4 separate regions of the Homo sapiens genome follow, and regions 2, 3 and 4 are each linked to region 1. Evidence: promoter capture Hi-C in human tissues and cell types (Jung and others, 2019). All regions are on one chromosome and are shown on one strand. The core of a region is centred on a gene start or on the middle of the fragment in contact, and the rest is flanking DNA. Distances in the headings are between cores, read along the strand shown. Region 1 holds the start of LDB1 (LIM domain binding 1). Region 2 holds the start of BTRC (beta-transducin repeat containing E3 ubiquitin protein ligase). Region 3 overlaps BTRC (beta-transducin repeat containing E3 ubiquitin protein ligase). Region 4 has its middle 26 kb from the start of TRIM8.

Region 1 (2,920 bases), core at 301-2,800:
TCTCATAAACACTTTAAGCCTCCGCATTTGTAACCCTCCCCCAGCCAGTCAAGCCAGCTGTGCAGACTCTGAGCCAGAGTGAGGGAACCAAACAGCCTTCTCAACCAACACCCCTCTAAGTAACAAAGAGGAGAACCCCCTACCCAGTCAGGGCCAGACGCCCTAGGGAGGAGACACTAGTCCAAGTCTCCATCGTCTATCCCTGGAGCCCATACTGAAACTTAAGAAAGAAAAGCTAGCAGCTGGGGACCCCAGGAGGGAGGGGGTCAACTCTCTACTCCAGGCGGCTCCCCTCCCTTCCCTCCTCCTGGCTAATAGGTATTTCCTGTTTATGAGGCAGCTAAAGCTGAGCTTTTGGGAAGGGATGGAGATGGAGCCCCTCCCCTCCTAGGGCTGGGTTGGGGAGTCCTTGAAGTGTGACTGAAGGTTGGGAGGCTCCTCCCAGGGGAAGGAGTGTTCCTTACATTGACCATCCACATCATCTCCCATCCAACCCCCCACGGCCCACAGCCTCTGCCTCTCTGGGTTAGGGGGCACTGGAGGGGCCTGTTTCCTGTTCTCATCTCCGAAGCCCTCAAAGGACAGCAGCTTCCAGGCAGGGGGGTCGGAGGCGGTGGGGTTGGGCGGTTGGTACGGAGGTGAAGGCACCAAGGCTGGAGAAAGGGGGGAAGGGAAGAGAGTGTCTTGACTGATGCGTCAGTCTGCAAGAAGGAAGGATGGCCTCCTATCGCCCCTCCGTAATCCAATCTGGTGGTCATTCCGCAGCCCCCTCCCCCCAGCAAAACACAGATCCCAAGCCCTTAGGCGGAGGAGGGCGGGGACCCCACTTAATTAACCCTTTTAGTTCTAGTCCCAACTGGTTTCGCAGGCAAAGGAGGAGTGGTTAATTTAGGGAAGGGGTGAGTTGAGGGGTTGCTACAAGAATTAAGAGAATGCTTCTTTACCCATCCAGCCTAGGGTAGGGACGCGAAACAAGGGGCCTCCAGAAGAAGGCTGGCGTCTCAGCAGGGAGCACGGACAGGGGGTCTGCAGTCCCTTTTCCCTCCCGGAGCGCGGCCCGGGGTGGAGAGAGATACACCACACTGCCCACCCCGGCTCCGCCTCCCCCAGCCGCGGCTCCCGCTCCGGCTCAGCCAGACTCCCCATCCGGCGGCACCCGGAGGACGGACACCGAGCGCGCGGCTGCGCCTCCAAGCCCTCCCCTTCGCCCTCCCTCTCTGGGGTCTCTGCCTCCGTCTCCTTTTTTAAAAGCTGCGTCACATGCATGCCGTTCCCCGAGCGCTCCCAGCCCCTCGCCGCCCGCCCGCCGCGCGGCGCACGCACGTCGTCGCTTGCTGCGCGCTCTCCCGGGTCACTTTGACACGGCTCTCCCCTCCCACTAGCAGGACAATTAGCATATTAATAAAGCCCGGCCCTGCCCGGCTTGGGCTGGGGAGCCGGCGCCGGCGCGAGGGAGCGCGAGCGCGAGGGCGGAGAGGGGGGCGCTCGGCGACGGCGGCGGGAGCGCACAGACACGCACACGCACACGCGCACACACGCACACACGGACACACACTCCGCGGACTCACACCCGCGCGCACACACGCAGAGGCCGCTCGCCTTCCTGCCTGGCTTCCTTCCTGTCTGCTCCGCGCCTGACAGGCCCCTCGCCGCAGCCAGGGGCCGCCCGCACCGGGCCGAGGCCGGGCCGGGCCGGCGGCGAGCGCAGCGGGGGCCGCGGGCGGCGGCGGCGGCTCATGCCCGGCCTGTCCCCGCGAGGGGCGGGCACCGTGACTCGGCTGGGCCCCCAGAGGCGGGCGATGTGAAGATGTCAGTGGGCTGTGCCTGTCCTGGTGAGTGGGGCGTGCGGCCACTCGGCCCCTTCCTGCCCAGCCGTCCCTGCGGACCCCTCACCCCGTGTTTGGCGAGAACTTGTGTGGGGGGCGTCGATGGCATGGGGGAAGCCGGGGGCTGGAAGGGCTACGCGGGGCCTCAGGCTGGCGGGTAGCGTTTTCCCCAACTGTGTAAATGCGCAGCAGCCCAGAAACACGGGGAGGAGACGCTGGGGGTGGCTTATGTGTATGTTTTTTTGGGGGTAGGCTAATTGGGGAGAGGTTTGGGGGGGGCTGAAATTCTCAGAATTCCAGGTTGTTAGCCAATCAGAAGTGACTCTGGACTTTTGACCCCCCCCCTCAGGTCACCATAGAGTTGTGATTGGCTGGTTTGGGCTGCCCCCCCTTCCCTGCTGCCCATTGCCTCTTACCTATCCTGTGACATCCCCCCCATGCTGTTTCTGAGGACCCTGTTTGCAGGGAGGTATTGATTGCGGCCCATCTTGCCCCCCACCTTCAACTTTTCCTGCCTGTTGCCAGGGAAGGTTGGCCCTCCTGAGGCACCGGAGGTACTCCTAAGAGGTGCCAGATAATTGGACCCTTGGGTCTGGCATCTCCGCCCTAGTGGGAGGGCAGGCTAGGAAATAGAGTGATTTGTGGAGAGGTAAGCTGGGGGAGCAATACTTGACCCAAAACTGAGAACTTGAGAGAGGACCCAGGCTCAGATCCCTGCCTCCCCAAAACATATCAGCTCTTGCCAGGGATAGCCTAGGTCTGAGTTTTTTTCCTGGGGGGCAGGTGGGGGGGGCGGAGGGCGTCTACCTCACTGCCAGGAGGAAAGAGAGAAGCCATGCGACTGGAGAGGTAGTCTACAGAGGGCCTCACGGCACACTGTCTGTCTCCATCCCCGGGACTCTGGGTCCTGGAATTGGCCCTCCTGCCCCAGACTGGAGTCAGCTTTCTCCTGGAAGTCAGTGTCCCTGAATGTAGCCCGCTTTGGCTACATACTTCACAGCTGGACACCCACCACTCCCCCACAAATCCCCAAGGGAAGCTGCCAGTGCGGAAGCTTCCTTGAAAATCATGTGACCCAGGCCAAGCTGGGCTGG
Region 2 (2,920 bases), core at 111-2,610, 770 kb after region 1:
CATTCTTTAGTTGTAACCACAAAGTCTGGTTTTACACCTAGGAAATACAAAAAGCATCAGATTAAAAGCATCAAATATCAGACTATACGAGTTTGCCAAAGATAAGCACAGCAAAAAGAAAAGCGTGATACAAAGTTAAAGAAATATGTTCCAAGGGGTTTAAGCACACCCACAAAATCCAATCTTTGCTCACACTGTGCTTCAACCTAAAACTGACGGGTAACCACAAATCCTGACTTATCCCTGACTTACTTCCCTCTACCAACCTCCACCCTTTTTATCTCCTAAATTTCTCAACTGATCTCATCACTTCTTATGGGTCTTTGCAACTCTCATCTCCACGGCCTTTCCTTTCCCAGAAAATGATACAAAGCACCTGGCCTCCACATTTTACCGTCCCACAATTTACCTTTAAATTTTGTTTTGCTTACCCTATTAGATACTCATTTTGCCCCAATCTCCTGTACCCATGTTTCCCTGACAATCTGCTCTTACTTTTCATCACCTTGTCCTTATTACAGTATTTAGCTTCTCCTTTCAAAGTAGCGTTATGTACCCCTCCCTGACATTTGTAATTCTAGCTTACAGTCAACACCCTTTTCCCCTCCCAGGGACTGTCATTATAGCCCTAGGTCCTCATTCCCAGTCCTTATCTTCTTTAGTGAGGCCTCTTCCCTTCCAGAGTTTGTCAACAGTAGTTTGGCCAAGCTGGGATTCCACCCTCAAGGCAAAGGCTATCCTCCCTCCTCATTCTACAAAACTATAAGCCTCTCACCAGCCCTAGCGTTCCCTCCTCCACCCTTAAATCCATCTGCATCCAGCCCTGCCCGTTCCCCTCTACCCACCGTATCTGTCTTCACTCTATCCCGCGCTCCCTTCCCCAGTCGTGAATGCACCTCCTCTCCCGGGCCTTACCGGTAACCCTGACACCAGGAAGGCCCCGCCAGCGGCCTCACGGCGTTTCTCCAGAGAGCTTCCTCCGCTTTTCAGTAACAGTCCCCACGCCCCTTTCCCTCCAGGGCCCCGCGCGCCGCCTGGAGCCCCCTCCTCGATTAAGCTCCCGCTGTCACTTGGCCTCTCATCCACAAGATGGCGGAGCCGCTGCCCCCACCCCTGGGTCCGCTCCGCAACCCCCAGCCTCCTTTCTGGAGCTCCCATCCCATCCCTCCAGCCGCTCCGCCGCCAGCCTCGGCCCAGGGTCCCGCTGCCCGGTCCCGCAGTGGGCGGGCGGCCCAGGCCAGCGACGCCGCCAACGCCAGCGCCTCCACCGTTCCCCGGCCTCCACCGTCTCCTCACCATAAACTTGAGTGCCTTCTCTTGCAGCACCGCCTCGGCCGGGTCCATAATCGCCGAGGCCACTGGGTCCGCTCTCCGCCGGGGCCGCCCCTTTGGTGCCAGGCCGCAGCCAACGCAGCGCCCGGATCCCGCCTCCTCTTCCTTCCCCCCGCCCTCTCTTACCTCTCAGGCGCAGGCTGAGGGGCCAAGGAGAATCGGCTTCTCCGTGCGCAGGCGAAAGCCCACTGGCTCACGGGATTTGTAGTTCTGGAACTTCCCCCAGGAAAAAAACTGAGGCTACGCCGTGAACCGCAACTCCCACAGTTCACTGCGGCAGCGTTGCGGTTGCCCACAAGCCAGATTTAGATAAGTTGCCATTACGCAGAGGAAATCGGCTGATGGGAATTGTAGTTTACAGCCTCTAAGGATGAGAAACGGGAGGGGCACGGGTGTCTCCGTGGTTACCGAGCGACGCCAGTAGCGGCTTGCCTGGCATTTGATATCAAGATGGCGGCCAATGCCTCACTTGTAGCCCAAATACTAAGAAAAACTGTGGCAAGAATCACGGGTCCTAGGACCTGCCTAACTGTGGTTTTAGGAAGCTGAACGTCCCCAAATTTCATGTATCTGGCATCTGCAGGTTTGCGACCCAGAGTAGCTGGGCCAATGGGCACCTGGCAGCAGCTCACAGACAAATGCGGAATTTCAAGGTCCTCCTAAGCCATCGCCACCCACACTTCTCCCGAGGAATCTTTTCTCCCCCACAGCAAGTCAGGGCCGAATAGAACTCGGTTCAAGAAATTCTCAGTGTTTAGAGCTCAAAAAGCACATAACTTGCTATTGCTAACTGTGGGATGTAAGCCCTGCACTAAGGGTCAAACAGGTACTTAACAAAAGTCCTTCAACGGTGGAATATAATGGCCTCCAGCAAATAAAGCATATAAATATTTTCTTTGGCCTGAAAAGGTACAATATGGGTTTATTTTGGAAATTGGGTCTACCTTAGGAGGAGAAAACTCTAGGGTTTGGTTAAAAGTGATTTAGGTTGTTTTAAGCTGCTATGTTTGTGATAATTGGTTATACAGCCTAAAAAACTGACACACACCCAAATGCCCCTCAGCAGGTGGTTGTATGAACAAATTGTAGCATATTCCATATGTAGCACAGTGGAATATTACTTAGCAATGAAAAAGAACAGTATAACAACAACAACAACAACAAAAGTGATTTAGGGCCAGGCGCGGTGACTGACGCTTGTAATCCCAGCACTGTGGGAGGCTAAGGCGGGTGGATCACCTGAGGTCAGGAGTTCGAGACGAGCCTGGCCAACATGGAGAAACCCCCGTCTCTACTAAAAATACAAAAATTAGTCGGGCCTGGTGGCACGCGCCTGTAATTCAAGCTACTCGGCAGGCTGAGGCATGAGAATTGCTTGAACCCGGGAGGCGGAAGTTGCAGTGAGCCGAGATCACGCTACTGCACTCCAGGCTGGGCAACAGAACGAGACTCTGTCTAAAAAAAAAAAAAAAAAAAAGTGAGTTAGATTGTGACAGCCTTGTACAAAATATCTGAATTTATAAAATAAATGAACTAGGAAAATACTTTTTGACTTATAGGAAAAAATCTCCATTTTAAACTATCTTAT
Region 3 (2,920 bases), core at 135-2,634, 660 kb after region 1:
TCTGTCCTGCCCAGGATGTGAATTATCCCTTGGTCCAGTGTATCCACACTGTACATGCTACTTGACCATGAGTCATTGACATTGTCTGCTCCTGACATCCCACCACCAACATCTTCATGGCTCAATAATCCAGGATCACCTAAAGCAGGTAGCATGCTGTCAAAGGGTCAGTAGTAACCTAATGCTGTGTCACAATGCCTAGGTCATTTACCTCACTTCATCTCATCACATAGACATTTTACTGTCTCACATCATCATAAGAAGGGTGAGTACAGTACAGTAAGATATTTTGAGAGAGCATATTCATGTAACTTTTATTACAGTATAGTTATAACTGTTCTATTTTATTCTTATTGTTGTTAATCTCTTACTATGACTAATTTATAAATTAAACTTTATCATAGGTATGTGTCCATAGGAAAAAACATAGTATACATGGAGTTCAGAACTATCTGTGGTTTAGGCATCCACTGGGGAACATACCCCCTATGAATAAGTGGGGACTATAGTATATTAAAATATTTTTGTAAAAGATTCTACACAACTTGTTACCTTTTATATTAACTCAAATATTTATTTCTTAGCCCAGTGCACAACTTGTTACCTTTTATATTAACTCAAATATTTATTTCTTAGCTCAGTGCTTACTAGCTTAGAATTGAAAGGGCAGAATGAAAGTCTCCCTGTCAACTTTGAATTTAACTCCAAACTAGATGCATTTGGGCTGTAACACCTGCAGATACAGTAACAGAGATTTGGGTAGGAAAAGGTCAATAAAGGAAATACTGCTAAAGCTCCTGCATTAGACCTCAGGGATGCATTTTGGATAAAATGTTTCCACAACCAAACTGGGCGAATAAAAAAGAAAGTAATTATATTAAAAAAGTATTCAGGTGATAAGCTTAAACTGTCTCAAAATCAACACATCTAAATTTAAAGCACTCTTTTACCATCTCCACTCATTTCTAGGTCAGCTCTTTTCCTCCCAACTTTTCTTTTTATCCTAGACTTAAATCCTCAGAGTCAGTTTTTACTCATTCCTTTTTTTTCTTTGAACATATCTAGCTAATTTTCAGTCTATAAACTTTTTCTTTGAATCATCTATTTTAATACATCTGACCCTACTTTTGCATTTCCACTGCTTCTACTCTAGTCCAGACCCACAACACCTCTTACCAGTGCTATTACTATTGAGACAGCCTTCTGACATTGACATCCTTGCCTAAATCCAAATGATATATTCTATACACTAGAGTGGCAATCATCATTCTTTTTTTTTTTTTGAAACAGAGTCTCGTTCTGTCACCCAGGCTGGAGGACAGTGGCGACCTCGGCTCATTACAACTTCTGCCTCCTGGGTTCAAGTGATTCTCCTGCCTCAGCCTCCCGAGTAGCTGGGATTACAGGCATGCGCCACCATGCCCAGCTAATTTTGTGTGTGTGTGTGTGTGTGTGTGTGTGTGTGTGTTTTTAGTAGAGACAGAGTTTCACCATGTTGGCCAGGCTAGCCTCGAACTCCTAACCTCAAGTGATCCACCCACCTCGGCCTCCCAAAGTCCTGGGATTACAGGCGTAAGCCACCATGCCCGGCCATTAGAATCATCATTCTAAAAAGGTTACTTTCCTGTTCAAAAGCCTTTTATAGCTTTTTGGCAATAACAGGATAAACCCAAACTTCTTAGTACAGCATCCATAAGACAGCCAACTTAACACTTCATCAAAGTCTCTGTACCATTTACATGACATTATTTATCATTCACCAAAATAAGGAAACCACTCTTTCATCTCTGTGTTTTTGTTAATTCTAGTCCCTTAACATGTAACAGGCTTCTTTCCCAATCTCTTTATCTACTAAAAATCCTGATTCAAGAGTCAGCTAAAATGATACCTTCTCTGAGAAGCCTTTATCCCCTTACGCCTAACCTGCAGTTAGAATTAATTACTCCGAAGAAAAACTTCACTTCCAATTGGCACTTAATTCTTTATATCTCTTTATATCTCTACATGAACATGCTTCCCACCCCACACTACTGTAAATTCCTTCAAGGCAGGGCCAGTTTCTGTTTCATCTTATATTTCAGAGGTTCAGCACAAAGCTAGAGAATATAATGTGAATTTTAAAATGTTTTCTTGTCGGGAGGTAGAGACAGGAGGATTGCTTGGGGCCAGGAGTTCAAGACCAGCCTGGGTAACATAGCAAGACCCTACCTCTACATAAAAAAAAAAAAAAAAAATTAGCTGGGCATAGTGGCACATGCTTGTCGTCCTAGCTACTCAGGAGGCTAAGGCGGGAGGATCGCTTAAGCCCAGGAGTTTGGGGTGTAATCATGCCATTGTGCTCTAGCCTGGGCGACAGAGTGAGACCCTGTCTCAAAGAAAAAAAAAAAAAAAGTTTCTTGGATTGAATATTATTGCCAGGTTAATCTTTCTTAACACTGCTACTGTCGTAATGGTCTTTCCCTAAAATATTTTTAGTGGCTCTTTATTTCTATGAAATCAAATATGAAGTTCTAGGCCTGGTTTTCAGGACCATCCAGAATTCCCTACTATATTACACCAAGTTATTTCCCACAACACATCTTTTCTGCCCCAGTTAAGCAAGTTTCTTCATAGTCTCACCAACAGGTGATATGATCTTGAAATTTCGGGGTTGAAAGGATTGTTTTTTAAAGACAGGGTCTTGCTCTATCACATCAGGCTGGAGTGTAATGACATGATCATAGCTCCTTGTAACCTCCAACTCCTGGGCTCAAGTAATCCTCCTGCCTCAGGCTCCCTACTAGCTAAGACTACAGGTATACGCCACTACACCAGGCTAATTTTTCTGTTTTTTTGTAGATACAGGGGTTCTCACTATATTACCCAGCTGGTCTCAAACTCACAGCCTCAAGCAATCCTCCCACCTCCGTTTCCCAAAGTG
Region 4 (2,920 bases), core at 188-2,687, 550 kb before region 1:
GGAGATTTAAAAGAGATCTCATGTAAACAAAGTGCCTAGATCTAGGACAATACCTAGCACATAGAAGGAACATTCCATGCCTCAGTTTCTTTTTCTTTTCTTTTTTTTTTTGGAGACGGAGTTTCGCTCTTCTGCCCAGACTGGAATTCAGTGGCACGATCTCGGCTCACTGCAACCTCCACCTTCCAGGTTCAAGCGATTCTCCTGCCTCAGCCTCCCGAATAGCTGGGATTACAGGCATGTGCCACCATCCCCAGCTAATTTTTGTATTTTTCGTAGAGATGGGGTTTCACCATATTGACTAGGCTGGTCTTGAACTCCTGACCTCAGGTGATCCACGTGCTTTGGCCTCCCAAAGTGCTGGGATTATAGGCGTGAGCCACCGTGCCTGGCCCTCAGTTTCTTATCTTCAAAATTGGGCAATAATCATGCTGCACAGTTGTCAAGAGGATGAGATGAGATGTCCGTACAGTGAGTAGTAGGTGCTAAATCAATGGTAGCAAATATAACAGCTGGCAGAAAGTCTGGAGTCCAGGCTTTCCAAGGCCCCTAAGACCTCTACCTCCCACCTTCCCTCCCATGTGGCTCTGTGACTTTCAAGGCCAGCAGCCCCCTCCCTTCGGGACTCCCAGGGCCACCCCAACCACACCTCCTGCTTAGCTTTGTAAGTGGGAAAGGCTCTTATCAGAGGCTCCTGATTGGCTCCAGGCGCAAACACAGTTTAGTGCTCAGTCAAGCTGCATCTCACGGCCTCTGTCCCTGTCTCCCCCTCATCCCCCTTAATTGCAATCTGTTCTGTAATTTCCTTTTCCAACACTGCAGAACACAGAGAAGCTGCAGCCACCAGGAGCAGGGGCAGGGAGGAGAGAAAGAGAGCCCTGGCTCCCTGCAGTCATTCTGCTGGTCCAGCACTGGTGTGTGTGTGTGTCCAGAACCAACCACACACAGGCGTGGAAGTGCAGCCAACAACCAGTCCCCCACAGTGTCAGAACCGGGGGAAAGAGTTAAGGAGGTAGCCACTTGCACCAGGTACTTCACAGTTACCTTATTTAATCCTCGCAAAGACACTGTTAACTGTAGGTATTGTCATTCACAGTATGAGGATGGGGCTCATAGAATTTGAATCACTCGCCCATGATCGCACAGGAAGAACTGGGCACAGTCAGGATTTGAACTCAGGCCTATTTCACTGCTGGGTCCCAAATTTATACCACAATACCTGTTTGCTTTTGGCTCCTAATGCTCTGCTCTCAGAAAAGGAGCTAAGGAATCCTTCTGCACGAAGGAACACGGAACAGTTTCTTCTCCAGAGCGAATAGCAGTGTCCCAGGGACAAAAAGCCTTTGCTAAAGAAATGAAATATTAATGACAGAACTGCAGAAAGCAAGCTGTGTCCAGGAGGGGGCAGGGAGAATTTGCTTGGATACCTGAAGCTGAGAGGTACAGGGTTGGGGTCAGAATCCCATTTAGCTAAGCCAACTGCTTCTCCTTTGAGTCATTAGTGGGTCTCATCCTTTGATTAGCCCTACAAGATAGCCGTTTACTGTCCCTAGTTCCCAGATGATGAAACCAAGGCTCACAAAGGTTAAGTCACTTGCCCAGAGTCACACAGCTAGGAAATGGCTTGACTGTGATTCCCGCCAGCCCACTTGCTGAAAGCCCATTTTATTCCATGATGCCACCCCAGGGAGGTAGGTGAGAGGCGGCCCTCGCTTTTTGCCACTCACCCTGTTTTCAGGATCCAGAAGACCCTGCCCTGGGGTCCCAGAGTCAGCTGCTGCTCTGGATGCCACCAGTAGAGGGGGCAGGAGGTGCCCAGCCCCACCCTTACAACCAAGGAAAGGGCCTGGGGAGGCTGTTGTAGTTGGGGCTTTGGCCTGGGATCAGCTGCCTCCACTTCCACCCAGGACTCAGAAGCCCCTGTGCCAGCCCCCTGGAGGCACAGCCCTAGGAGCCCCCCAAGACCGCTGGAGCAGGAGGAGAAAGAGCTCACCATAGGAGACACACGGGCTCCGTCCACAGGCAGGCCCTCTTGGCCACATTCCTAACACTAGAGAGGCCTGTCACCCAGGCCACCACTGACTCATGTGGGAGATTATGCCCCACACCAGAGTACAAGGCGTGGCACCAGCTGCAGGCCCCTCAGCCAGTTCCCTTGGGTAGGGCACAAGCTGTACAGCTACACTTGGCCCTGCCTGTGACACCAGCCAGACCCTTCCCTGGGCCTACATTTCAGCACTGTTCCCCAGCCCAGGCCCAGGCCCACCTAGAGCACCTGGTCCCGGGCTGGAGCCCAGCATTCTCCTTCCCTAGCCCTCCTTGCTGCCAGGACGTCAGAATCCTGCAGAATGATGCTGGTCCACCAACCTCAGCCCCCTTGGATTCCCTTTGGAGGCACAGAGCAAGCCTGGTCTAGGGTTGTCACATAGGAATGGGGCTTCCCTCGAGTCTCCAGGGGACAGTGCCAAAGCAGTTTTCCTGCTGGAATGCTACAGATGGCTTCTGGGAAGATGGGGATAAGAAGCTTTGGTTTGTAAACAACAGCCCATCCTGGACCAAGGGATCCAATCCAGCCCAACTCTTCCCTCACTCTCCCCAGCTCCTATGGGGATGCAGCCTGGATTTCATCCTTACTCATGCCCCAGGCCCCTTTCCCGCCCTGAGACCTCCAGATCTGGCATAGCAGCAGGTCGGAAGAAGAAAAAGCAGGAGGAAGGGGCATTCAGGGGCTGAGATGCTGATCCAGGCAGTGGGGGAGGCATCTGCACAGCTGCAGGCAGCCCCCCTACCCCCAGTCTGTGAATGGGTACATCACCCTCTCCCGCCCGCCTGCCACTGCTCCTGAAACAGTTGGTCCTAATGAACACTAAGCAAGCAGGGCAGCTGTGAGCATGATCCATATGCATGGGAGGTGTATATT

Evidence for each region. The method cuts DNA at HindIII sites, captures the fragments that hold promoters and counts their contacts. A contact is called where the count stands out against the background at its distance.
Region 2: the fragment with the promoter of BTRC here is called in contact with the fragment with the promoter of LDB1 in region 1 in 1 of the 25 tissues and cell types used here (aorta).
Region 3: a contact is called between a fragment that was not itself captured here and the fragment with the promoter of LDB1 in region 1, in 1 of the 25 tissues and cell types used here (aorta).
Region 4: a fragment that was not itself captured here is called in contact with the fragment with the promoter of LDB1 in region 1 in 1 of the 25 tissues and cell types used here (dorsolateral prefrontal cortex).

The regions. Positions count from the first base shown.
Region 1 is chr10:102,118,998-102,121,917 of GRCh38, reverse strand. LDB1 (LIM domain binding 1) reads left to right here and starts at 1,550. Exons shown (of 11, transcript NM_001113407.3): 1 at 1,550-1,832. The coding sequence starts at 1,808. It also overlaps a transcript of PPRC1 not described here. RefSeq lists enhancers at 1-160, 161-912, 913-1,664 and silencers at 1,161-1,290, 1,311-1,610, 1,671-1,750, 1,841-1,910. The HindIII fragment of the contact is 10,982 bases long and covers 1-2,920 here.
Region 2 is chr10:101,352,605-101,355,524 of GRCh38, reverse strand. BTRC (beta-transducin repeat containing E3 ubiquitin protein ligase) reads right to left here and starts at 1,360. Exons shown (of 15, transcript NM_033637.4): 1 at 1,297-1,360. The coding sequence starts at 1,344. RefSeq lists a silencer at 1,137-1,316. The HindIII fragment of the contact is 8,909 bases long and covers 1-2,920 here.
Region 3 is chr10:101,454,532-101,457,451 of GRCh38, reverse strand. All of the region lies in intron 2 of BTRC (beta-transducin repeat containing E3 ubiquitin protein ligase), which reads right to left. Among named protein-coding and RNA genes, the nearest start is that of BTRC, 100 kb to the right of the region's middle. The HindIII fragment of the contact is 4,588 bases long and covers 1-2,920 here.
Region 4 is chr10:102,668,863-102,671,782 of GRCh38, reverse strand. No RefSeq gene overlaps it. Among named protein-coding and RNA genes, the nearest start is that of TRIM8, 26 kb to the right of the region's middle. RefSeq lists enhancers at 882-1,483, 1,484-2,085, 2,086-2,688. The HindIII fragment of the contact is 7,795 bases long and covers 1-2,920 here.